Regions from separate parts of the Homo sapiens genome. Here regions 1, 2, 3, 5 and 6 are each linked to region 4. The links are contacts of gene promoters, found by promoter capture Hi-C in blood cells and fetal thymus (Javierre and others, 2016). All regions are on one chromosome and are shown on one strand. The core of a region is centred on a gene start or on the middle of the fragment in contact, and the rest is flanking DNA. Distances in the headings are between cores, read along the strand shown. Region 1 overlaps EEF2K (eukaryotic elongation factor 2 kinase). Region 2 has its middle 45 kb from the start of CDR2-DT. Region 3 overlaps EEF2K (eukaryotic elongation factor 2 kinase). Region 4 holds the start of PDZD9 (PDZ domain containing 9). Region 5 holds the start of LOC124903663 (a long non-coding RNA gene). Region 6 overlaps METTL9 (methyltransferase 9, His-X-His N1(pi)-histidine).

What was found. The method cuts DNA at HindIII sites, captures the fragments that hold promoters and counts their contacts. A CHiCAGO score of 5 or more calls a contact.
Region 1: a fragment that was not itself captured here is called in contact with the fragment with the promoter of PDZD9 in region 4 in 8 of 17 cell types (total CD8 T cells, naive CD8 T cells, neutrophils and 5 more); the score reaches 10.7 in total CD8 T cells.
Region 2: a fragment that was not itself captured here is called in contact with the fragment with the promoter of PDZD9 in region 4 in 1 of 17 cell types (naive CD8 T cells); the score reaches 5.2 in naive CD8 T cells.
Region 3: a fragment that was not itself captured here is called in contact with the fragment with the promoter of PDZD9 in region 4 in 11 of 17 cell types (total CD8 T cells, naive CD8 T cells, neutrophils and 8 more); the score reaches 23.2 in total CD8 T cells.
Region 5: a contact is called between a fragment that was not itself captured here and the fragment with the promoter of PDZD9 in region 4, in 1 of 17 cell types (fetal thymus). The highest score is 5.3, in fetal thymus.
Region 6: a fragment that was not itself captured here is called in contact with the fragment with the promoter of PDZD9 in region 4 in 1 of 17 cell types (neutrophils); the score reaches 5.5 in neutrophils.

Annotation. Positions count from the first base shown.
Region 1 is chr16:22,260,589-22,264,121 of GRCh38, reverse strand. EEF2K (eukaryotic elongation factor 2 kinase) reads right to left here. Exons shown (of 18, transcript NM_013302.5): 12 at 935-1,012. Among named protein-coding and RNA genes, the nearest start is that of TRL-AAG2-4, 35 kb to the left of the region's middle. The HindIII fragment of the contact is 3,812 bases long and covers 1-3,158 here.
Region 2 is chr16:22,418,285-22,421,880 of GRCh38, reverse strand. It overlaps the pseudogene RRN3P3. Among named protein-coding and RNA genes, the nearest start is that of CDR2-DT, 45 kb to the right of the region's middle. The HindIII fragment of the contact is 2,788 bases long and covers 191-2,978 here.
Region 3 is chr16:22,282,399-22,285,890 of GRCh38, reverse strand. EEF2K (eukaryotic elongation factor 2 kinase) reads right to left here. Exons shown (of 18, transcript NM_013302.5): 18 at 1-2,004. The coding sequence ends at 1,895. Among named protein-coding and RNA genes, the nearest start is that of TRL-AAG2-4, 13 kb to the left of the region's middle. RefSeq lists an enhancer at 3,309-3,492. The HindIII fragment of the contact is 2,676 bases long and covers 784-3,459 here.
Region 4 is chr16:21,999,217-22,003,046 of GRCh38, reverse strand. It overlaps PDZD9 (PDZ domain containing 9), which reads left to right and starts at 1,931. Exons shown (of 4, transcript NM_001363519.1): 1 at 1,931-2,030. The coding sequence starts at 2,000. It also overlaps the pseudogene LOC100420536. RefSeq lists an enhancer at 1,736-1,785. The HindIII fragment of the contact is 4,622 bases long and covers 557-3,830 here.
Region 5 is chr16:21,644,078-21,647,660 of GRCh38, reverse strand. All of the region lies in intron 4 of METTL9 (methyltransferase 9, His-X-His N1(pi)-histidine), which reads right to left. IGSF6 (immunoglobulin superfamily member 6) reads left to right here. Exons shown (of 6, transcript NM_005849.4): 2 at 169-528; 3 at 3,265-3,371. LOC124903663 (a long non-coding RNA gene) reads right to left here and starts at 3,265. Exons shown (of 2, transcript XR_007065025.1): 1 at 2,485-3,265; 2 at 194-729. RefSeq lists an enhancer at 1,936-2,115. The HindIII fragment of the contact is 562 bases long and covers 1,526-2,087 here.
Region 6 is chr16:21,604,328-21,608,029 of GRCh38, reverse strand. The region is part of intron 1 of METTL9 (methyltransferase 9, His-X-His N1(pi)-histidine); the gene reads right to left. Among named protein-coding and RNA genes, the nearest start is that of METTL9, 6.6 kb to the right of the region's middle. The HindIII fragment of the contact is 4,521 bases long and covers 1-3,636 here.

The DNA of each region.
Region 1 (3,533 bases), core at 3-2,502, 260 kb before region 4:
TGGGGTCACCACGTTGGCCAGGCTGGTCTTGAACTTCTGGCCTCAAGTGATCTGCCTGCCCCGGCCTCCCAAAGTGCTGGGATTACAGGCATAAGCCACCACGCCCGGCCAGCATGTTCTTTATTCACAATCATAAAGCTGAGATCAGAGGTGTCCTGGCAAGACTGGCCTTGATGTGCAGGCTCCATTTCAGCACAGGGTAAGACCTCTAAATGGCAGATACTGTCTGAGGTTGCCCTCACCAGGATGCTGCTGGGAGGCTACCCAAGGAAACTGACCTCCAAGGCCCTCCTCCCTGGGGCCTCACAGGATCCTGCCTATGAGTGGGTCCAGCTATTACCCAGGATCCTCTCTGCTCAGCAGCCCAGGACTCCCACTTCACCATAAGATTTGTCAGCCATTATCAGCCTTATATCTAAGCCTCCACACTTGCCCCGTTACTGGTCCACATGATCCTGTTTTATCTTCTTTGCATTTATCTTTATCTGAAATACTCTTTATTTTATTTTATTTTGAGACAAAGTTCACTGTGTCACCCAGGCTGGAGTGCAGTGGCACAATCTTGGCTCACTGCAACCTCTGTCTTCTGGGTTAAAGTGATTCTCCTGCCTCAGCTTCCCCAGTAGCTGGGATTACAGGCATGCACCACCATGCCAGGCTAATTTTTGTATTGTTAGTAGAGACGGGGTTTCACCATGTTGGCCAGGCTGGTCTCGAACTCCTGATGTCAGGTGATCCACCCGCCTTGGCCTCCCAAAGTGCTGGGATTACAGGCGTGAGCCACCATGACCGGCCTGAAATACTCTTTATTAATTTACTTGTTATCTTCTCAGGACCCACTCATATTCCCCCTCCAGGAAGGGGAGTTTTCATTTTCCTGGAGGATAAACAAGGCAACAGGTGACACCGGTCTCATTTCCTGGGGGTTCCTTACATGTTCTCGGGGCTCAGGGTCATCCAGCTCACCCCGCTTCTCACTGGGGTATCCGCTGTCCCCACTATTCTCAGACTCCTGTGGAGAGAAGACGGCCTTAGGGTCCTGGTGGTCCCCTGAGCACCTGGAAATGGTTATGACATCTCAACACCCCAACTGTTAGCTTTCTCCCCTCTGTCCCATTACCTAACACCCTGCTCCTGCTGTCCCTTGCCGGGTGTGGTGGCTCATGCCTGTAATCCCAGCACTTTGGGAGGCCGAGGCAGGCAGATCACTTGAGGACACAAGTTCAAGACCTGCCTGGCCAACGAGGGAGCAGTATAAGGTAACAGTAAGGACCTTGGGCTCTACAGCCAAATGACCTGGGCTCAAATCCTGGCTTTATTTCTTGCCAGCTGAGACCTTGGGCAGTTGCTTAACTTCTCTGAGCATCAGTGTCCTTAGTTATGGGATTCATTATAGCCCCTACATCGAAGGGCTGTGTGGGTGAAATGCACTGTTACATTCTGAGAGTGTGGATCACAGGAAGTGCTTTACTGAGAGTGACTCACCCACTTCACAGGCAGAAAAACAAAGGCTGGTTAAGGGCTATGACCCACGGACAAAAATATAGCATTGGGAACAATATTTAATACAAATAAGCCCTCAACCAAAACCACACATTTTTATTTTTTTTTTGAGATGGAGTCTCGCTCTGTCACACTGGCTGGAGTGCAGTGGCACGATCTCAGCTCACTGCAACCTCTACCTCTTGAGCTGAAGTGATTGTCCTGTCTTAACCTCCCAAGTAGCTGGGACTACAGGCGCCTGCCACCACGCCTGGCTAATTTTTGTATTTTTAGTAGAGACGAGGTTTCACCATATTGGCCAGGCTGGTCTCAAACTCCTGAACTTGTGATCCGCCTGCCTTGGACTCCCAAAGTGTTGGGATTACAGGCGTGAGCCACCGTGCCTGGCCTAGTTGGGCATATTTTTTATTCTCCCAGGTCTGAGTTCTGTTCTGAAAGCGAATCTGGTATAATTTAGAATCTCTAAAACTTCAGCCATGTACCTACCAACATTGAATTATAGCTCTCTCTGCATGTCACCTGCACAATTAGTAACGGAATAGTTTTATTTCCTTCTTTATTCTTCTAAGAAGTATCTTTTCTGTGTGTGTGTGTGTGTGTGTGTGTGTGTGTGTGTGGCAGGGTCTCACGTTGTCACCCAGGCTGTAGTGCAGTGGCGTGATCTCAGCTCACTGCAACCTCCACCTCCCAGGTTCAAGCAATTCTCTTGCCTCAGCCTCCTAAGTAGCTGGAATTACAGGCACATGCCACCATGCCTGGCTAATTTTTATATTTTTTGTAGGGATGAGGTTTCATCATGTTGGCCAGACTGGTCTTAAACTCCTGGCCTCAAGTGGTCTGCCTGCCTCAGCCTCCCATAGTGCTGGGATTACAGGTGTGAGCCACCACACCCCGCCTCTACTAAGAAGTATTTCTTTTTTTTTTTTTTTGAGACTGAGTCTCGCTCTGTCGCCCAGGTTGGAGTGCAGTGGTGCGACCTCTGCTCACTGCAACCTCCGCCTCCTGGGTTCAAGAAATTCTCGTGCCTCAGCCTCCTGAGTAGCTGGGATTACAGGAAACTGCCACCATACTCGGCTAATTTTTGTATTTTTAGTAGACATGGGGTTTTGGCATGTTGGTCAGGCTGGTCTTCAAATTCCTGACCTCAAGTGATCTGCCCCCCTTGGCCTGCCAAAGTGCTGGGATTACAGGCGTGAGCCACTGCGCCCAGCCTCTACTAAAAGGTATTTGTTTTTTCTTTTTTTTTGAGACAAGATCTCGCTGTCACCCAGGCTGGAGTGCAGTGGTGTGATGATGGCTTACTGCAGCCTCTGCCTCCCAGGCTCAAGAGATCCTCCTACCTCAGCCTCCTGAGTAGCTGGGACTACAGGTATGTGCCACCATGCCTGGCTAACTTTTGTATTTTTTTGTAGAGATGGGGGTCTTGTCATATTGCCCAGGCTAGTTTCAAATTCTTGGGCTCAAGTGATCTGCCCACCTTGGTCTCCCAAAGTGCTGGGATTATAGGCATGAGCTACCATGCCTGGCCAATTTTACTAAGAAATATTTCAAACACACACACAAGCATAGAGAGTATTATAATTTGCCATAATATACATTTGTGAGAATGCAGATAAGATGCCTTCAGTTTCTTACCACCAAGTCAACCCAAAGCTTCAGGAAATGTTCTGTTTATCTAACTGGAGAGCTAGGTGTGAAGAGCTAGAACACATGGCTTACTGTGCTATGTGTTACACATCTAAGACCCAGTATTAGGGCTCTATAGGACAACCAACACATGTGGGGTCAAACCAAACCTGGAGCTGAGACTGGCATTTACTACAAGATCGCATTGTTGCTGACTGGGAGTCCCTCTTCCCTAACCATCTCTGGGAACTGCAAGGGACCCACCTTTTCTCAGAGGAAAGCTCAGCCTTGGACTGGAGGCTGACATTCATCTGCATCCTCCCTAATTCCCCCATTCTGTGCCCTCCTGGCAGTGCCTGGGCTAGGCTGCCCACCTCCGAAGCTGAAGATTCACTCTGGGAGTG
Region 2 (3,596 bases), core at 335-2,834, 420 kb before region 4:
CTACAGTGCAGTGGTGCAATCACAGCCCACTGCAGCCTCGACCTCCGGAGCTCAATTGATCCTCCCACCTCAGCCTCCTGAGTAGCTGCATCTACAGATGTGAGCCACCAAAAAAAAAAAAAAAATTATTTTTGACACAGGATCTAGCACTGTTGCCCAGGCTGAAGTGCATCTGGGCTCACTGCAAGCTTCTCCTGAGCTCAAACCACCCTCTCACCTTAGCCTCCCAAGTAGCTGGGACTAGAGCCTCACTCCACCACGCCCGGCCTTGTTTTTCCTTTGTGAACATCGTTCTACAATGCTGTGGGTACATCGCTTTTTCAATATGAAGTTTTCTTTGGAAGTTTATAAATCCAGTTTGGGCCTTGGAGGAAAGCAGTCAGTGATAGAAATTTTGTGACTCTGAGTGAGTTTGGTGGAGCTTCGAGTTGTAGATTGTTTCCCAGGGACCGCTGCAGACACAAAGCCCTGACTGCAGGATCCCCAGTGATAAAAGTGATCAAAGGCGAGTGTGATCAGACGTGCGCTGCAACGCGAGTTGAGGTTTCATCGAGCCTCATTCAGTGGCTCCTGGGGCAGTTGTGTGGATGAAGAGGGCCATGTCTGTGAAGTGCTCAGGATGGAGCTGGTGGTGGGGCGGCCATGCCGGCCACATGGCTCACACCCCTCACCCGTCAACTCGGTGCCCGGCATTTTCCTTAGCTCCTCTGTGGATTAATTCTCATTCTGAAGACGGGAGGCTGAGGTTTCATCTCAGCTCTGTTCCTGGCTCATTGCTGCGCTTCTCTGTACCCGTCCCCTCCCCTGACTAGGGGAATGAGAACCTTGCCTATGGAAACACTTAGGGGATGGTGGCCCGTGACTCCATGCCAGCCCCTCCCAAGCCCAGCCACCAGCTGAGGTCCTGACCACCTTGTGGACCACCCGGTCCTCCAGCCCTGCGCCCACCCCCGCGTCCTCCCTCCTGCTCTTTCGTAGTTCCCTTGTGTTTCTCTGTGCCAGTAGCTGAGCCCCCGTGCCCACCCACTGCAACTGCACCTTCCCTCCCTCCAGGCTTCCCCACTGCGTTGCTCCCCTGCAGGGGCCAGTGAGTGGCTCTAGCTGTGTTCAGACAGCTCTGTGCCTCCTCCTCCCACCCCAGTTCCTCCGCCTTGGAGACAGACGGGGGTGCAGCGGGGCTGAATGGCACTCCAAGCTCGTGGGGCTGGGGAGTCCACATCTGCACCCGCCGCGTGGCTAGCACCCCCTGAGCGTTTTGGTCAATTTGCCATCATCCCACCCCTCAGTGCCGTTGGTGGTTGCCTGACGAAAAGCTGCACTTAATAGAAATCACTGTGGATGCAGGAGATGGACGGTGATGAGCTCAGGACCAGCCAGCAACCCCATCAGGCGGTAATGCCTACCATGGTCACCCATGACTTCCTCTCGCCACTGCTCGGAGCTCCTGCAAAGCCACAGGCAACAACACATTTCTGCTCCGTACGAGAAGCTCCTATTGTAAGTCGGTGACATGGCTGGGGTTTTCTCTCAGCAAATATTGAGCAAACACTGACTGTGCCAGGTGATGTGCTGGGTCCCAAACCCTTCCCAGACCCAGCCCTGGCACTCACGGAGATCCAGCTAGGAAGTCCGGGAAAAGGTCATCGGGGAAATAAACAAAGTCAAGCACAGTGGATGAACGCGCTGCTGCCGCTCCCCACACCTCTTGTGGTGGACATCACTTACGCTTCCTCATGGTGCATGTCACTTATGCTTCCTGGTGCCCTCCCAGATGACCCCCCCTTGGGCCACTACACACAGCTGCACCCGGCAAGAGCAGACAAGGATGGTCTACTCACTGAGCCTGCAAGGCTGGTGTGCAGGACAGGCCAGCTACACTCCCCAGGTGTGTGCAAGACCGGGGACGAGTCAGTCATTGGGAGGTGAGGTGCTCGGGCAGTGTGGGATGGAGGAGGAGGGAGGGAAACTGAGTGTGGGCTCTTCGTATTGGAGAGGAGGGGACGGCCATGGCACAAAGACTCAGATGGGAAAGTGTGAGAAAGCAGAGATTTCAAAGGAGCTACGGTGGAGACCCACAGAAGAGGAATGCTGAGGCTTTTCTGTCTGAAATGCTGAATAGACTCTAGCACACGCAAAACAGCCCACCACAGCGAGCTGCAGGATTCTTCCGGGCTTTTAACAGTGGTCTTGTAAAAAAAATTAGCCGGGCATGGTTGTCCCAGCTACTCAGGAGGCAGAGAGGGGAGGATGGCTTGCGCCCAGGAGGTTGAGGCTGCAGTGAGCCATGATCGCACCACTGCACTCCAGCCTGGGTGACAGAATGAGACCCCTGACTCAAAAAAAAAAAAAAAAAAAAAAAAAAAAAAGACTGGAACATTCAAAACCTGTTGATGGGCTCAAGAAATTCTCAAGAAATTCTCTTGCCTCAGCCTCCTGAGTAGCTGGAACTACAGGTGTGCACCACCACATGTGGCTAATTTGTGTATTTTTTGTAGAGACAGGGTCTTACCATGTTGCCCAGTCTGGCCTTGAACTCCTGGACTCAAGGGATCCAATGACAGGCGAGAGCCACCATGCCCAGCCACATTTTTGCTAAATTCTTTACACTGGTGAATCTCAAAGAATTCTCTGATCATCACACCATATCCTGCTAAGTGTGCAATTAACCTGTGGACTTCAGTTGGACACTTTCAGATTAGCATTAGCTATGTGGGGCCACCAAATGCCAACTGTTAAATTATCACTCAAAGATAAATGACACTTGAGTGTGCTGTTTGAGTTTATACCTCTAAAAAATGCTTATAGTACCATGAGACTAGTGTGCCAACGTGTCTGGCTGCCAACGTGTCTATAGCTGAGCCAATAAGAATTAGTCTCTAGAGCCTCTGTTTCCAAGGAAGTCAATCTCTAGATTCCCACATTGGCTGCATGATGGAATAAGCCAGGGGCTACGAAAAATACTGATGCCTGTTGAAGCTTGGAGGAGCTGGGGTTGGGGTGTAGGGCAGTGATGATCACATATGAATAGAACTGGGAGTCTTTAGTGTTACTGGTGGCAATGTTGAAATGCATGAGGGTTGTTTATTGTATAATGAAGTATTTTTCACATGAAGTCATATGAAGTATTCCATTCCACTGTATTTGTTCTTATTTTAACGATACAACTAGGTAATAAAGGAAATGAAGTATTGTTTTATATTTTAAAAAAACACATATGCCTGGATCTCACGCCCCAGACATTCTGATTTAACTGGTCTAGGGTATGGTCTGGGCATCAGGACTTTTTCAGGCTCCAAGTGATTCTAATGTGCAACAAGGTTGAGAACTATTGCTTTAGGGCCTTCGTGTTCTTTGAGAATACAAAGAAAATTCAGAGAGATAGGTTAAAAACACACTTGCCATTCCTCCATTGCTCTGACATCTATCAGCAAATAAGCTATAACAGGAAATACAGGGCTTTGGGTCTTTTCTATTCCAGATTCTGTTCCTGTCCTCTTTTAGCCACCAGGGTTTTAATTTTATTTATTTATTTATTTATTTATTTATTTATTTATTTGAGACAGAGTCTCGCTCTATTGCCCAGGCTGGAGTGCAGT
Region 3 (3,492 bases), core at 872-3,371, 280 kb before region 4:
GAGACCCCATCTCTATTTCAAAAATTATAAAATAATAAAAAGAAAATAATCTCTCTGCATAAGCAACAACAACAAACCCCACTAAGGTGTTGAAGGACCCATTTTAATGAATAGTTAAGAATGGTTTGTATGTTATACTCTGCTTTTTTATGTTTTGACTTTTAAACAAAGAAAAATAGGCTGCTTTTGCATTTAGGGTTGATCAAAGCAGTCTGTCTTTTTTTTGTTGTTTTGGTAGAGACAGGGTCTCGCCATGTTTACCCAGGCTGGTCTTGAAGTCCTGAGCTCAAGCAATCCTCCCACCTTGGCCCTCCTCAAAGTGCTGAGATTACAGGCGGGAGCCACCGCACCTAGCATCTTTGCTATTTGAAACATCAAATGAAATCATACTAATGTGAGAGCTGAATTCCATTGAAAGGAAAAGCTCATTAAATAACAATCGCCATTGTCTGGCCATGGGGAGACTACTAGAATTAATGAGTGTTTATAGTTCTTGCCCTCTCATCCTCAAACATCTTAGATAAAATCCCAAGAGACTGCTGCTGAAAGCGTCCTGCTGTAAATTACAAGAAAATCAGCCCAGCTTCAAGCAGAAAATGCCAAGGACCAGGGCTGGGGAGCAGATTTCACGTAAGAACATCCAGACACTAAGAAAACACCAAGGAATACTGTATAAGAGACATTGCAGTCACGTTGTGGGAGCTGCCACTGAGATGCAGAGTGTGGGTCTGCTTGGAGAAAAGGCTCTCACATTCCAAGCCGCTGTCCTTACGTGTAAAAGCTTTGAGGTGCACCCTCTTCCACACTAGCTGATGTAGGAGTTAGAGGTAGTAAACGTGTGCATACAAAACTCAAACCTGTTTTGAAAAGCCCACCGTAGAAAGCATGCTTAAAAGATGGAATTCGGCTGTATGCCAGAAAATCAGTAGCATTATGGAAGGAAATTGAACTAGAAGTTTAAAAAACAGCCAACATGCAGGCCCTTCCCCACAGTAGAAGGGAGCCTGGGTATTGTGCAATCTCACACCCACTGAAAAAATGCCACGCATGCCTCTAAATGCTCTGAGAAAGAATGCTTTGCACTAAGCCACGGCAATACACGCCCCGTGACTTAGGAAAGCCAGCGTGAAGTGCTTCATTTCTCATCCCGATGCACAAAACACAGGGCTCCATGGGCCCGACATTTCAGTCCAGCCTGAAAAGACTAGTGAGCACAGCCCTAAAATTGTCCATTCAAGGCAAAAAGCACTTTCTTATATCTCGTGACAAAAAAAAAAAAAGAAATAAAAATGAAAATAGAACCACAAAATGGGCAGGCATGGTGGCTCACACCTGTAATCCCAGCACTTTGGGAGGCTGAGGCAGGTGGATCACCTGAGGTTAGGAGTTCGAGACCAGCCTGGCCAACATGGTGAAACCCCATCTCTACTAAAAATGCAAAAATTAGCTGAGTGTGGTGGTGTGCACCAGTAATCCCAGCTACTTGGGAGGCTGAGGCAGGAGAATCACTTGAACCCAGGAGGCGGAGGTTGCAGTGAGCTAAGATCATGTCACTGCACTCCAGCCTGGGTGACAGAGCAAGACTCTGTCTCAAAACAAACAAACAAACAAACAAAAAAAACCACACACAAAACGGTATGTTGGTTCATTAGGCTGCTTCTTCAAGCCCCACTTCCCCAAAATACTGCCCTAAGAGACAGCTATAGAGTCTCTGCTGGTAGCTGCCAAGGAGCAAAGACATTTTTCAAGAGTCAAAAAATGAAATATAAAATTTGATTTTACAACACACTTAAAAATGCTTCCCCTCCCCAAACTAAATAAGTTGTTGTTGTTGTTTTTTTAATCTTTCCTCCTAGCCCGTTTGCTTGGGACTAGCCGGCAGTGATTTTCCTGGTTACTCCTCCATCTGGGCCCAGGCCTCTTCAGCCTTTTGGTAGTACTGGTTGGCCAGTCGGCCCTTCATGGCTTCCATCGCTGCCTCTGCTGCCTGGGTATACAAGTCCCCTGAAAGACAGCAAAGGGGGGCAAAAAGAGGTGAACCACCTGTTGTTTTTGCCAGCCCAGTGTCCCCCATCACCCCTCCCAGAAGAACACCCTGACGTTTCCTTAAGAACTCAAACTACTCCGTGTGCCCTCTCCCTCCAGGTGTTCCGGGCGGGGCTCTAAAGGTGGGCCTGTGATAAAATCTAGCCAATAATAGCACTCCTCCTATCCCCCACCAAGCTACAGCGATTGGTCCAGATTTAGTCATGGCCAATCAGAGTAAGCCATCTAAACAACTACTGTTGGTTTGGGGTATGTAGATGATTGAGTTTGAGCCAATGAGAATCAGGCTGAGAACTAATTTGAGCCAATGAGAATCAGGGTGAGAACTTTTGCAGAACTAAGTGGGGATGTGCAAAAGTGGAAGAAATAACGACTTACAAACAGCTTCATGTCAGCTAGGTCAGGTTTTACCAAGTGAATTTGTGTAAAACATACAAATATACTTCAGGTTTTTGGAGCTTTTTGGATTTAAAATTTTCAAATAAAAGATTATAGATTTGCATCATTCTTCTTCTTTTTTTTTTTTTTTTTTTTTTGAGATGGAGTCTCACTCTGTCACCCAGGCTGGAGTCCAGTGGCGGAATCTTAGCTCACTGTCACCACTGCCTCTGGGGTTCAAGCGATTCTCCTGCCTCAGCCTCCTGAGTAGCTGGGATTACAGGCACCTGCCACCACGCCCAGCTAATTTTTGTATTTTTAGTAGGGATGGGGTTTCATCATGTTGCCCAGCCTGGTCTCGATCTCCTGACCGCAGGTGATCTGCCTGCCTTGGCCTCCCAAAGTGCTGGGATTACAGGCGCGAGCCACTGCCCAGCCTAGATTTGCATTATTCTTTGTTAATTTTTAAAATATAACTTAAAAACTTTTAAAACTTAGCCTCATCCTATACCTGTGAAATTAGGAACTTAGTATGTTTATTATATGTTAGGGACTGAATGCTGTGTCCCCACTGGGCTCCCCATCCACAAATTCATATGTTGAACTCTTCATTCATGATGTAACTGCACTGTATTTGGAGACACACAGTCTGTGTCTTAGTCCATTTTATGTTGCTATGACAGAATTCCACAGACTAGATAATTTATAATGAAAAGAAATTTATTTGGCTCACAGTTCTAGAGCCCGGCAAGTCCAAGAGCATAGCACCAGCATCTGGCACAGGCCTTGGTGCTGTATCATCCCATGCCAGAAGGCAAAGAGCAAGAGACGTAGAAAGCAAGCGAGCAAGAGGGGGCCAAATTTGCTTTTATAACAAAGCTACTTTTGTGATGACTGACCAATCTGCATGATAACAACATTAATCACCTCTTAACAGTCCCACCTCTTGACACCTTCACAGTGGTGATTACAGTTCAACATGAGACTTGGAGGGGACGTTCATATTCTAGCAGCCTGTGAGGAGGTGATAAAGCTTAAATGAGGTCATAAGGGTAGGGCCCTAATCAC
Region 4 (3,830 bases), core at 682-3,181:
CTGCTGGTAGGAAGATGGAGGAAAAAGATGTATTTTATGATAGAATTAAGTTGGTATCTATGTAGACCCCTGCCAGACTGTTTGGAAGAGGAAAGGTGACCTGTCACAAGAAGTCACCCACAGGAGACTTGAGGTGGAGAATAGCCCTTTGTACTGGTCTCTACGACACAGGTTTTATCTAATGAGAAATCTGTCCTGGCGCTCACGCCTGTAATCCCAGCACTTTGGGAGGCCAAGGCGGGTGGATCACCCTGAGCTCAGGAGTTGGAGACCAGTCTGGCCAACATGGCAAAACCCTGTCTCTACTAAAAATACAAAAATTAGCTGGGCGTGGTGACACAGGCTTGTGGTCCCAGCTACTCTGGTGGCTGAGGTGGAAGGATCGCTTGGGCCTGGAAGGCGGAGGTTGCAGTGAGCTGAGATTTTGTCACTGCACTCCAGCCTGGGTGACAGAATGAGACCCCATCTCAAAAAAAAAAAAAAAAAAAAGGAACCTAAAGAGGAATCTGCCCTGGCTTATTGTCTGTGTAGAGCCACAGAAACAACAGAATAAGCTTGGACATAACCAGATCTACCATGGAAATCTTTGCACAGTGCCTGACACCTAATAGGTGGTTAATGACTGTTTGTTGAAGGGATGGGGCAAGGTGCTTAGCCTCTCAGTTTCATCAGACCGGGGATAACACCAGGGCCTACCTCATTAGGTTTTCTCTTTCTTCTAGAATTTACTAACTCATTTATTCATTTTTATTTTTTGAGACAGGATCTTGCTCCATCACCCAGGCTGGAAGGTGGTGACTCAATCATAGCTCACTGCAGCCTTGAATCCTGGGCTCAAGTGATCCTCCCATCTCAGCCTCCTGAGTAGCTAGGACTACAGATGTGCACCACCATGCCCAGCTAATTTTTAAATTTTTTTTATAGAGAAAGGGTCTCACTATGTTGCCCAGGCTGATCTCAAACTCCTGGGCTCAAGCAGTCCTCCTGCCTCAGTCTCCTGAGTACCTAGGATTACAGGTGTTAGACACCACACCTGGCCTAGAATTTATTTTTAATAATTTATATTTTCCTAAAATTGTCCACTTCATCTGTTTTTTAAGTACAGGTTTCAAGAGGATAGAGCCTGTGTTTCTGTGTTTGTCTTGCTTACTGTTGTGTCCCCAGTATCAGTAAATGACAGAACAGCTCCCTGTAAATACTTGTTGTATGAGTGAATGTGTGTGGGAGGAAGAATTATCTTGGAAAAAAGAAGGAAGCATTAATAGTGCCTCTCCTAATAGTGACTCATTTTTTTTTAGGCCACCCTGGGGCCTTTTCTTATTCAAAACATTCATGAAAAAAAGTGCAGTTCCAAAGCATTGGAGCTACTGATGTAACAATTTTTTTAAAATACCATTATTAGAAGTGCAGCGGGGGATTCTCTGATCTTCTAGGTATTCTGTGATCTCCTGTGATCTTCTGGCTGTGATCTTCCTCTGCAGACCACCTCACATCTTTGAGACACCCTCCTCTGTGCCTTCTCCCCCTCCCTATTTCTTAGGTTCACCAAGAATGAATGAAGAAGCCAAGCGCGGTGGCTCATGCCTGTAATCCCAGCACTTTGGGAGGCTGAGGCGGGCAGATCGCTTGAGCCCATAGTGCAACAGTTGTGTTGAGCCTGAGCAACATAGTGAGACCCCCACCCCCTGCCCGTCTCTTAAAAAAAGAAAAAGAAAAGAAGGAATGAAGAAACCACCGTGGGTCAGGCACGGTGCTAACCTCTGCAGAAGTTTCCATACAGTACAATGGTGTGCAATGCCCACGCCACGTTTTGCAGGGTCCACGGGAAGCCTTGCGGCGACCTCACTGCCGCCCAATTTCTGGGCAGTGGCGGCGCAGCGCCCCCTGGCGGCCATCCCGAGGGCAGTGCCCGCGGGCAAGGTTCGAAACTGTTGGCATTGGGACTGACTCCAGCCTCTGCTCCGGGAGGCCCTCCCGGGCTGCCTGACCTCCCGGGACCATGCAGAAGGCCTCCCACAAAAACAAAAAAGGTAACTGGGGAGAAGGAAGCGGGTGAAGAAGCCCTGGGGACCAAGCCTTCGTCAATGTTCCTCCTCTGTAAAATGGCAACGGTGCACTCTTGGCCTGGGAGATAACCTCTCTCCATCGTTGTTGTTATCATCATCATCATTATCATCATCATCATCATCATCATCATCATCATCATCATCATCATCATCATTTGAGAAGGAGTCTTGCTTTGTCCCCCAGGCTGGAGTGCAGTGGCGCGATCTCAGCTCACTGCAACCTCTGCCTCCCAGGCTCAAGTGATTCCTCTGCCTTAGCCTCCCGAGTAGCTGGGATTACAGGTGCCTGCCACCATGCCCAGCTAATTTTTTATTTTTAGTAGAGATGGGATTTCACCATGTTGGCCAGGCTGGTCTCAAACTCCTGACCTCAAGTGATCCGCCCGCCTTGGCCATCGTTATTTTTATCAAGGTATAATTTCCATGCAGTAAGATCCCCCCTTTTAAAAGTACAGCTACCGTTTTGACAAGCTATACCCACGTTGAACCACCCCCTCCATCAAGATAGGGAACAGTTCCACCACTCCCTAAAATTACTTTGCAATGCCCAGTTGCAGCCAAACCCCACCCCACTGCAGCTCCTCACACCCCCATCTGTTTTTTACAGCGTTTTTTTTTTTTTGCCTTTTCCATGGAGAACATCATAAAAATGAAATCACATAGTAAGGAGCCTTTAAAAAATTATACCAATGTAAATAGGGACTTTGGCCCTTTCATTTTTATTAAAAGGGCACATAAATCTTAAAATAGCATATGGGTCACTGTATTTTATTTTTAGAGACAGAGTCTTGTTCTGTCGCTCAGGCTGGAGTGCAGTGGTATGCTCCTGGCTCACTGCAGCCTCCAATTCTTGGGCTCAAGCAATCCTCCTGCATCAGCCTCCCATAGCTGGGACTGTAGGCATGCACCACCACATTCAGCTAATTTTTTTTTTTTTTTTGAGACAGAGTCTTGCTCTGTGACCCAGGCTAGAGTGCAGCGGCATGATCTTGGCTTACTGCAACCCCCGCCTTCCAGGCGGGTTCAAGCGATTCTTGCCCCTCAGCCTCCAGAGTAGCTTGGATTACAGGCGTGAACCACCACGCCTGGCTGATTTTTGTGTTTTCAGTAGCAACGGTGTTTCACCATGCTGGCCAGGCTGGTCTCGAACTCCTGACCCCAAGTGATCCGCCCACCCTCGGCCTCCCAAAGTGCTGGGATTACAGGTGTGAGCCACCATGCCCAGCCTAAATAGAAGAGATGAGGTGTCACTATGTTGCCCAGGCTCTAATCACTTTATACTTCTGCTAGCCCCCAGGTGGGCTTACTGAAGGATGCAGACTCCTGCACTGAGCAATTCTTGTTCTTTATGGCTTTTTTCCGCACAGCATCAGGATTTGATAAGACTTGAGGTTGGCAAAGAGGCTGAACTAGGCAGGCAGGTGCCAGACAGCCTTAGGCTTTTTCACTGCAGGGCTGTTGTCATTTGGACTGCTTGTCCTTGGGAAGGTTGACATTGCTGTCTGACTAGCCTTGTAGCAAAACCTGTAAGTCTTTCATATTTTAGTCTGGTGCTTGGGGTCTGGCTCTCCGAGGACCATAGTGCTGCCTCCTCCACCTGGTTGTCCCCAAACACAGCAGCTCACTCTTTTCTGAGCTCACCCTTTTCCAGGGAGGAAGCATTGAAGATCTCACTTTCAACAGCAGTAGGATCATCTTTGTCAGTACCTTCGGGTTCCAGGGTCCCTGCCACTGGGCCCTAGCGAGCACTTTCCTCAGGTTTCA
Region 5 (3,583 bases), core at 557-3,056, 360 kb after region 4:
AGGAGTTGGGGCAAGTGAGGACCACTGGTGTTTATTTTTAGTCTTATTTATATTGGGATTAAGGTAAGAAAAATAACAGAATGGCTGGGTTTCCTACCTCAAAAATATAATAAAAGCACAAAGTGAGGTGGCAGGCCCATTAACCCACTCATCTGCTTCCTCCCACAGGTGCTGTGGGCGCCTGTACTCTCTCTGTCACACAACCGTGGTACCTAGAAGTGGACTACACTCATGAGGCCGTCACCATAAAGTGTACCTTCTCCGCAACCGGATGCCCTTCTGAGCAACCAACATGCCTGTGGTTTCGCTACGGTGCTCACCAGCCTGAGAACCTGTGCTTGGACGGGTGCAAAAGTGAGGCAGACAAGTTCACAGTGAGGGAGGCCCTCAAAGAAAACCAAGTTTCCCTCACTGTAAACAGAGTGACTTCAAATGACAGTGCAATTTACATCTGTGGAATAGCATTCCCCAGTGTGCCGGAAGCGAGAGCTAAACAGACAGGAGGAGGGACCACACTGGTGGTAAGAGGTCAGTCAGCGAGGCTTTATTTCAGTGCATCATTGCATCTTGTTCAGGCCTGTAAAATCATTACCTCACTCACATGTAGAAATCAGGAGATAAATTTGCTAAGTTAATACCCTAGCCAGTGATGGGTGTGATCTGAACACAAGTCACCATGAGGTTTGGACTAAAGAACTACTCCAACTGGCTGGGCGTGGTGGCTCACACCTGTAATCCCAGCACTTTGAGGCTGAGGTGGACGAATCACTTGAGGTCAGGAGTTCAAGACTAGCCTGGCCAACATGGTGAAACCCCATCTCTACTCAAAATACAAAAATTAGCCGCGCATGGTGGCATGCACCTGTAGTCCCAGCTGCTTGGGAGGTTGAGGCAGGAGAATCGCTTGTAACCCAGGAGGCGAAGGTTGCAGTGAACCGAGATCGCACTACTGCACTCCAGTCTGGGCAACAAAGCAAGACTCCATCTCAGAAAAACAAAAGAACTACTCCAATCCATCTCGAACATCCACTAACACAAAGTCAGTGATTTGCTGGGTGCTCTATTCTCCCTACATGGTGATGTTTAACCAACCATGTTCACCTCTTTTGTATATTACAGTGATTTAGTGTAAAGTACCATGTCCAAAGGGAACCTTGTGGTGAGTAACTATCAGCTTTCTCAGGAACTAGTCTGGTAATGCACCACCTAGAACAAAGCACTAGAGAAGTGTAAAAGATCAATAAATTGGACCCACAGAAACTATGCAACATGGAGAATAAGCACAGATTTGGAGAGAAGCTACTCAGGGATCCCTGACCCTTCCCATTCTGCCTGGACATCAGTGAACGGAAAGTGATGACTCTCACTTCCTGAGATTTGATAAAACCCATGACAATTCCTCAGCCGAGCGAGGACATCAAACATAGCTAAATCCTATCAGTAATTTCACCAAGTCATTCCCTTGAGTAAACTGAGATTAAGACATTCCCGAGAAAAAAAAAGGGGGAATTTCAGAGAAAAAGCTTTACATGATTCTGAAGGAAAAAAGAGAACAGCAGCAACTCCTCGCCTTGTTGGGGTCTCTTCCCTTAGGAAGGACCCTGGTATGATGAGCAGAGATTGTTAAAACATGAACTCAAAATCAACCAGCCCTTCGATTTCAAAATAGGACTCTGAGGAAGGGAGACCATCCAGTATTATAACCTGTGCTTTTAAACTACGAGGGTTCTAATGGGCTTTTGATATTCAAATGTCATTTAACCTTAGTTTATTCTCATCTGTCAGCTAAATTATAAATAAGTTAAGGCACTTAAAGCATTTTTAATAGTGCCTGGCATATAGCAAATAACAAATGTTAGCTACTGATATGAAAACACACACAGCTTTAGAGATTTGTATGTCTCACTGCATTAGCCTTCTAAAAACATGTTAGTCAAAGGGAAAAATGGCTTGTAAAAAGATGAAGGTCTCAAAGCTGCAAGGCTTATATAAAGTGAAGTGAAAGTGAAAGGCAGAATTGAAAGTGTTAAGGCAGACATGGCAACTTCCTGTCTCTTCTACAGAACTCCTATTTTCACACTGAAGCTTTTTTATTTTAGTTGTATAGATGTGGTTAATTTGTTAGTTTCACAAATAAAAATGTATGCTGCATAAACTGCATTCACAGGATAAGCATCTATGGGATTTTTCTTTCTTTTTTTTTAAGACAAGAGTCTTGCTCTGTCGCCCGGGCTGGAGTGCCGTGGCGTGATCTCAGCTCACTGCAACCAACCTCCACCTTCCGGGTTCAAGCGATTCTCCTGCCTCAACCTCCTGAGTAGCTGGGATTACAGGCATGTGCGACCACGCCCAGCTAATTTTGGTATTTTTAGTAGAGATGGGGTTTCGCCATGTTGGCCAGGCTGGTGTCAAACTCCTGATCTCAAGTGATCTGCCCACCTCGGCCTCTCAAAGTGCTGGGATTACAGGCATGAGCCATCACACTCAGTCTCATCTATGGGATATTTAGTTGGAAAGTACAGGCTATTCAGACAGTAAGTACAAATCTAATTGTATTTTGTACTCCAAATAGTCAGGTAATTGAAGACATGGCATGTTACTTAATCCCTACCCAGAGCACAAGACAATTTCTGCAAGGAGAGAGAAATTCCGAATGTGAAAATGGATTCAATAACTCTATTTCCAGAATTTTATCATAAAGAAAGAAGAGCACATTTGGCAAAAGTGCCTGTCTTTCAAGCACGCAGTGAGCACTGCGCTCCTCAATGTATGGCCTTCCCAGGTTCTTTCACAGATGGGACTCTTCAGCTATGTGTACTAGTTCCAAGGCTATAAATATCACCCTTAACAAATACATATGAAAATATCTTAACCACATAGGCAGACTCTTGATGATACTGGTAAACCGTTTCTACCAAAAGAGATTTTAGATGCCCTTGAACAAACTGTCTGGAAATGTTTATCTAACTTCAAATAATCCTTTATCTAAAAAGTGATGCTTAGCAATATGACAAATGGTTGGTTGAATTTTTTTAATGTTTAAAAACGAGTAACATTTTTGGTTTAACACATTTAAAGAACTGATGAACTGGCTTTAACTATTACATACTTGAGTACCTTTTGAGGTCTAGTTTTTATACGAATAGGCAAGCAGAGTAAGTTCACGTTTCACCTCTAAAACGCAGTGTGAAGGATACTTTACACATGTATTTGAAAGAATAGGCTTTAATAGTCAATGTGCTTCTTTCTGTTTTTGTCATTAAGAAATTAAGCTGCTCAGCAAGGAACTGCGGAGCTTCCTGACAGCTCTTGTATCACTGCTCTCTGTCTATGTGACCGGTGTGTGCGTGGCCTTCATACTCCTCTCCAAAGTAAGTCAAATCCTCTTGCATGGAATGTCCCTATATCCTTGAATATTATCAAAAGAAAAATAATTTCTATCTCTCCACAAGTTATGGGCCTCAGCAAGAGCTCCCTAATTAACATTTTCCTGTGCATCTGCAGGGAACACCACCTGCAGAAGAGGTCTTTGGAAGAAGGCATCATACATTCTCATCACTGAAATTATTAGCCAGGGGACATA
Region 6 (3,702 bases), core at 127-2,626, 390 kb after region 4:
TTACAGGCACCTACCACCCCGCCTGGCTAATTTTTGTATTTTTAGTAGAGATGGGGTTTCACCATGTTGGCCAGGCTGGTCTTGATCTCCTGACCTCAGGTGATCTGCCTGCCTCGGCCTCGCAAAGTGCTAGGATTACAGGCGTGAGCCGCTGCGCCCAGCCGCAGGTGAGTTCTTTAAATGTGTGCTCCTTAAAGACTACAGAGACAAAGGTGCACAGGCAAGAACAAAGTACTATGCCCGTTAAATTCACACACTGACAGGACTACACGCCCACTCTACTGTGAGGCTGGACTCCTTGGCTGGAGCCTACCATGTCTGAAAAAGCATCTTATTAGCATCTGCCTTTAAAGCTCACTCAAATGTTGTTTCATCTAAATAAACAAGGGAATCTTTTAAATGACAAATTCTAATCAAATGAGAATGATTCCATTCAGTCATCTGCTGATGCCAAGTACAGAACAGGATGTGATATCTAAAAATTACAGTAAATAGCAATATTCTCCCTACTGGCAACACAACTGCAAAGATACTAATAATTGGCCAGGCAGTAAACAGCCAAATCAGGTGGCTGCCACGCGTTTTGAATGCATGTCTGACAGTATTCGCCAACCGAAGTTATTAAATATTAGGTCATACTGTCTTAAAAATTTCCTGGCTGGCTACGATGGCTCACACCTGTAATCCCAGCAATTTGGAGGCCCAGGTGGGCAGATCACTTGAAGTCAAGAGTTCAAGACCAGCCTGGCCAACATGGTGAAACCCCGTCTCTACTAAAAATACAAAAATTAGCCAGGCGTGGTGGCAGGAACCTATAATTCCAGCTACTTGGGAGGCTAAGGCAAAAGAATCACTTGAACCAGAGAGGCAGAGGTTGTAGTGAGCCCAGAGTGTGCCACTGCACTCCAGCCTGGGCGACAAAGCAAGACTGTCAAAAAAAAAAAAAAAATTTCTCATTAAGCCCATGAACTCCTCCTAATATTTATATATAACCTTGGTTGATGAATCACTCGTTCAAAGTAGGAATGCAATTTTCCTATAAAATTAGATTTGCTAATCAGACCAAATATGGTTAAAAGTTTTTCTGAAATTATTTTTGGAGTTTATCAACTAATCAAACATGTGATATACAACATATCCAAAATACAACATTCCCAAAATACAAAGGATTTAAGCACACTAGCAGAGTCAGAAAGTAATTTTAAAAACTGACTGATTTTAGATGATGTGGTATAATAAAAAATACATATTTGATCTTTGTCCCAGGTTCCTGATAGAGAGTTCCTAAAACCCTTCGGGAATCTCAGGGTAATAAGAGTATCTTTTGTATGCTAACAGGATGACTCCTGATAGGGGTGGGAGACCCAGACAGCTTCAGGATGGGGACCAGGATGTGGGTATAAGGTTCAAACTTTCAGCCCCACCTTCCAATCTCCAAGGATGAGAAAGGAGTTGAAGACTGAGTCTAATCATGCCTATGTAATGACACCCCTAAACTATGGGGTCCTGGGAGCTTTTAGTTTGCTGAATACATTGATATGATGGTTGGGTGGCTCATCAGAGGAAAGAGAAACTCTACACCACCTCCCACACCTCACCCTATGCACCTCTTCCACTTGGCCGTTCCCCAATTGTATCCTTTGTAATAAACCAGTAAACCTAAGTGGTTTATTATTATTATTATTATTATTTTGAGACGGAGTCTCGCTCTGTCGCTCAGGCTGGAGTGCAGTGGCGCAATCTCAGCTCACTGCAACCTCCGCCTCCACGGTTCAAGCGATTCTCCTGCCTCAGCCTCCCCAGTAGCTGGGATTACAGGCACGTGCCACCACGCCCAGCTAATTTTTTTGTATTTTTAGTAGAGACCAGGTTTCACCCTGTTAGCCGGGATGGTCTTGATCTCCTGACCTCGTGATCCACCCACCTCAGCCTCCCATAGTGCCGGGATTACAGGCGTGAGCCACCGCACCTGTGTTTTCCTAAGTTCTATGAGTCATTCTATTATAGGAAATTAGGGGGTGGGGTGGGGTAGGGTGAAGGTAGAGTTGTGGGAACTCCCAAATTTGTTCAAGGTGGACAAAAGCACTGGCAGCCTGGGAACCCAGGACTTCCAGCTGGCCTCTGAAGTGAGGGCAGTCTTGTGGGACTGAGCTCTTAACTCTGTAAAGCGTGACCCTAACTCCAGGTAGTTAATGTCAGAACAGGATTGAACAATTAAACACCCACTTGGTGATGGAAAATTAGAGAATGGCTGATGTCAGGAAAAAATGACAATACATGTAAGAATCTTTTTTCAACTTTAAGCCTTAAAAAAAGCATGCACAAACCAGATAAAGGCCAGAACTTCAAGCAGCTGTCTTATTCTCATCTAATTCACAAACTACAAAATCTTCAACAAGTATTGTGCACACAGCTACCTAACTTCAGTGTCTACACAGAGGCCTCACTAGAATGAGGGCAGTTTCCTATTCAGAAGGCAAGCCTAGGCCAGGAGCAGTGGCTCACGCCTGTAATCCCAGCACTTTGGGAGACTGAGGCAGGAGGACTGCTTGAGGCCAGGAGTTTGAGACCAGCCTGAACAACATGGCAAGACCCTGCCTCTACAAAAGATTTAGAAGCTACTCAGGAGGCCGAGGCAGGAGGATGTACTGAGGCCAGGAGTTTGAGGCTGCAGTGAGATATGATCAGGCCACTGCATTCCAACTTGGGTGACAGAGTAAGAACTTGTTTCTCAAAAAAAAAAAAAAAAAAAAAAAAAAAAAAAAAAAAAAAGAAGGCAAGCCTATTTTTACCACCCCTCAGACAACACAAGGTTTACCAGGAGGGGCATCATAAAGCAGCAGAAAATGTGTTGCCTTGAAACCAAAGCTGGGTGCAAAGCCCAACTCTATCATCCATTAACTCTGTGCTGGTGAGCAAGTCTCTTCTCTCTCTCACCCTCACTTTTCTGTATGTAAAGTGCGGATGATACCACCAACCTCCAAGAGTTCTATGTGGACTACTGGGGATAATATATTTGAAGTGCCTGGCACACAATAGAAGGCCAGTAGCTCTTCATATTTCCTTCCCCTTTCTCTCCAAGGCAAGGGCTGGTCAGAGGAGAAGTACAGTTCAAGGGAATGCCTAAAAACCAAACTGTAGGTCTAGGCATCCAGCCATTCTCAAAAGAAATGGGTAATCAAAGACCCAAGGCATTCAGGGCTACCAAAAACAATCAGAAAAGCTCCACTGCTCAGGATCTATGAACACAGAATCTTTTCTAAGTTGGCCAGACCAACTCCATCAACAGAGCTTGACAGCTAAGGATTCAAAATTCACATTCTAAGATTTTACAATGCAGTCAACTCAGTCCAGACATTTCACCATGCACACCTTGCATTTAAGCACAGCATAGGCGTAAATATTCAGACCATTCACCATTTTCCCACAAACAATATAAACTCAACCCAATAACCTCTTTATGTGAGATTTCAATGTGTACAGTGACAGGCACCCTCATATCCATGAGGGGAATCAATTAAAACAGATTAAATGGCTTCAGCTTTGATTTAATAACCAATTACTGGCAATCCTCATTGCAAATACTAAATACTCACTCCCCATAGGACAGGATAATCCTAAAATTTTAACAAAGCTTCAGAGGGTCTACACAACAGAGCTTTTTACTGGAAGCTATTAGGGTCTTCTAGGGCACCTTCAAAG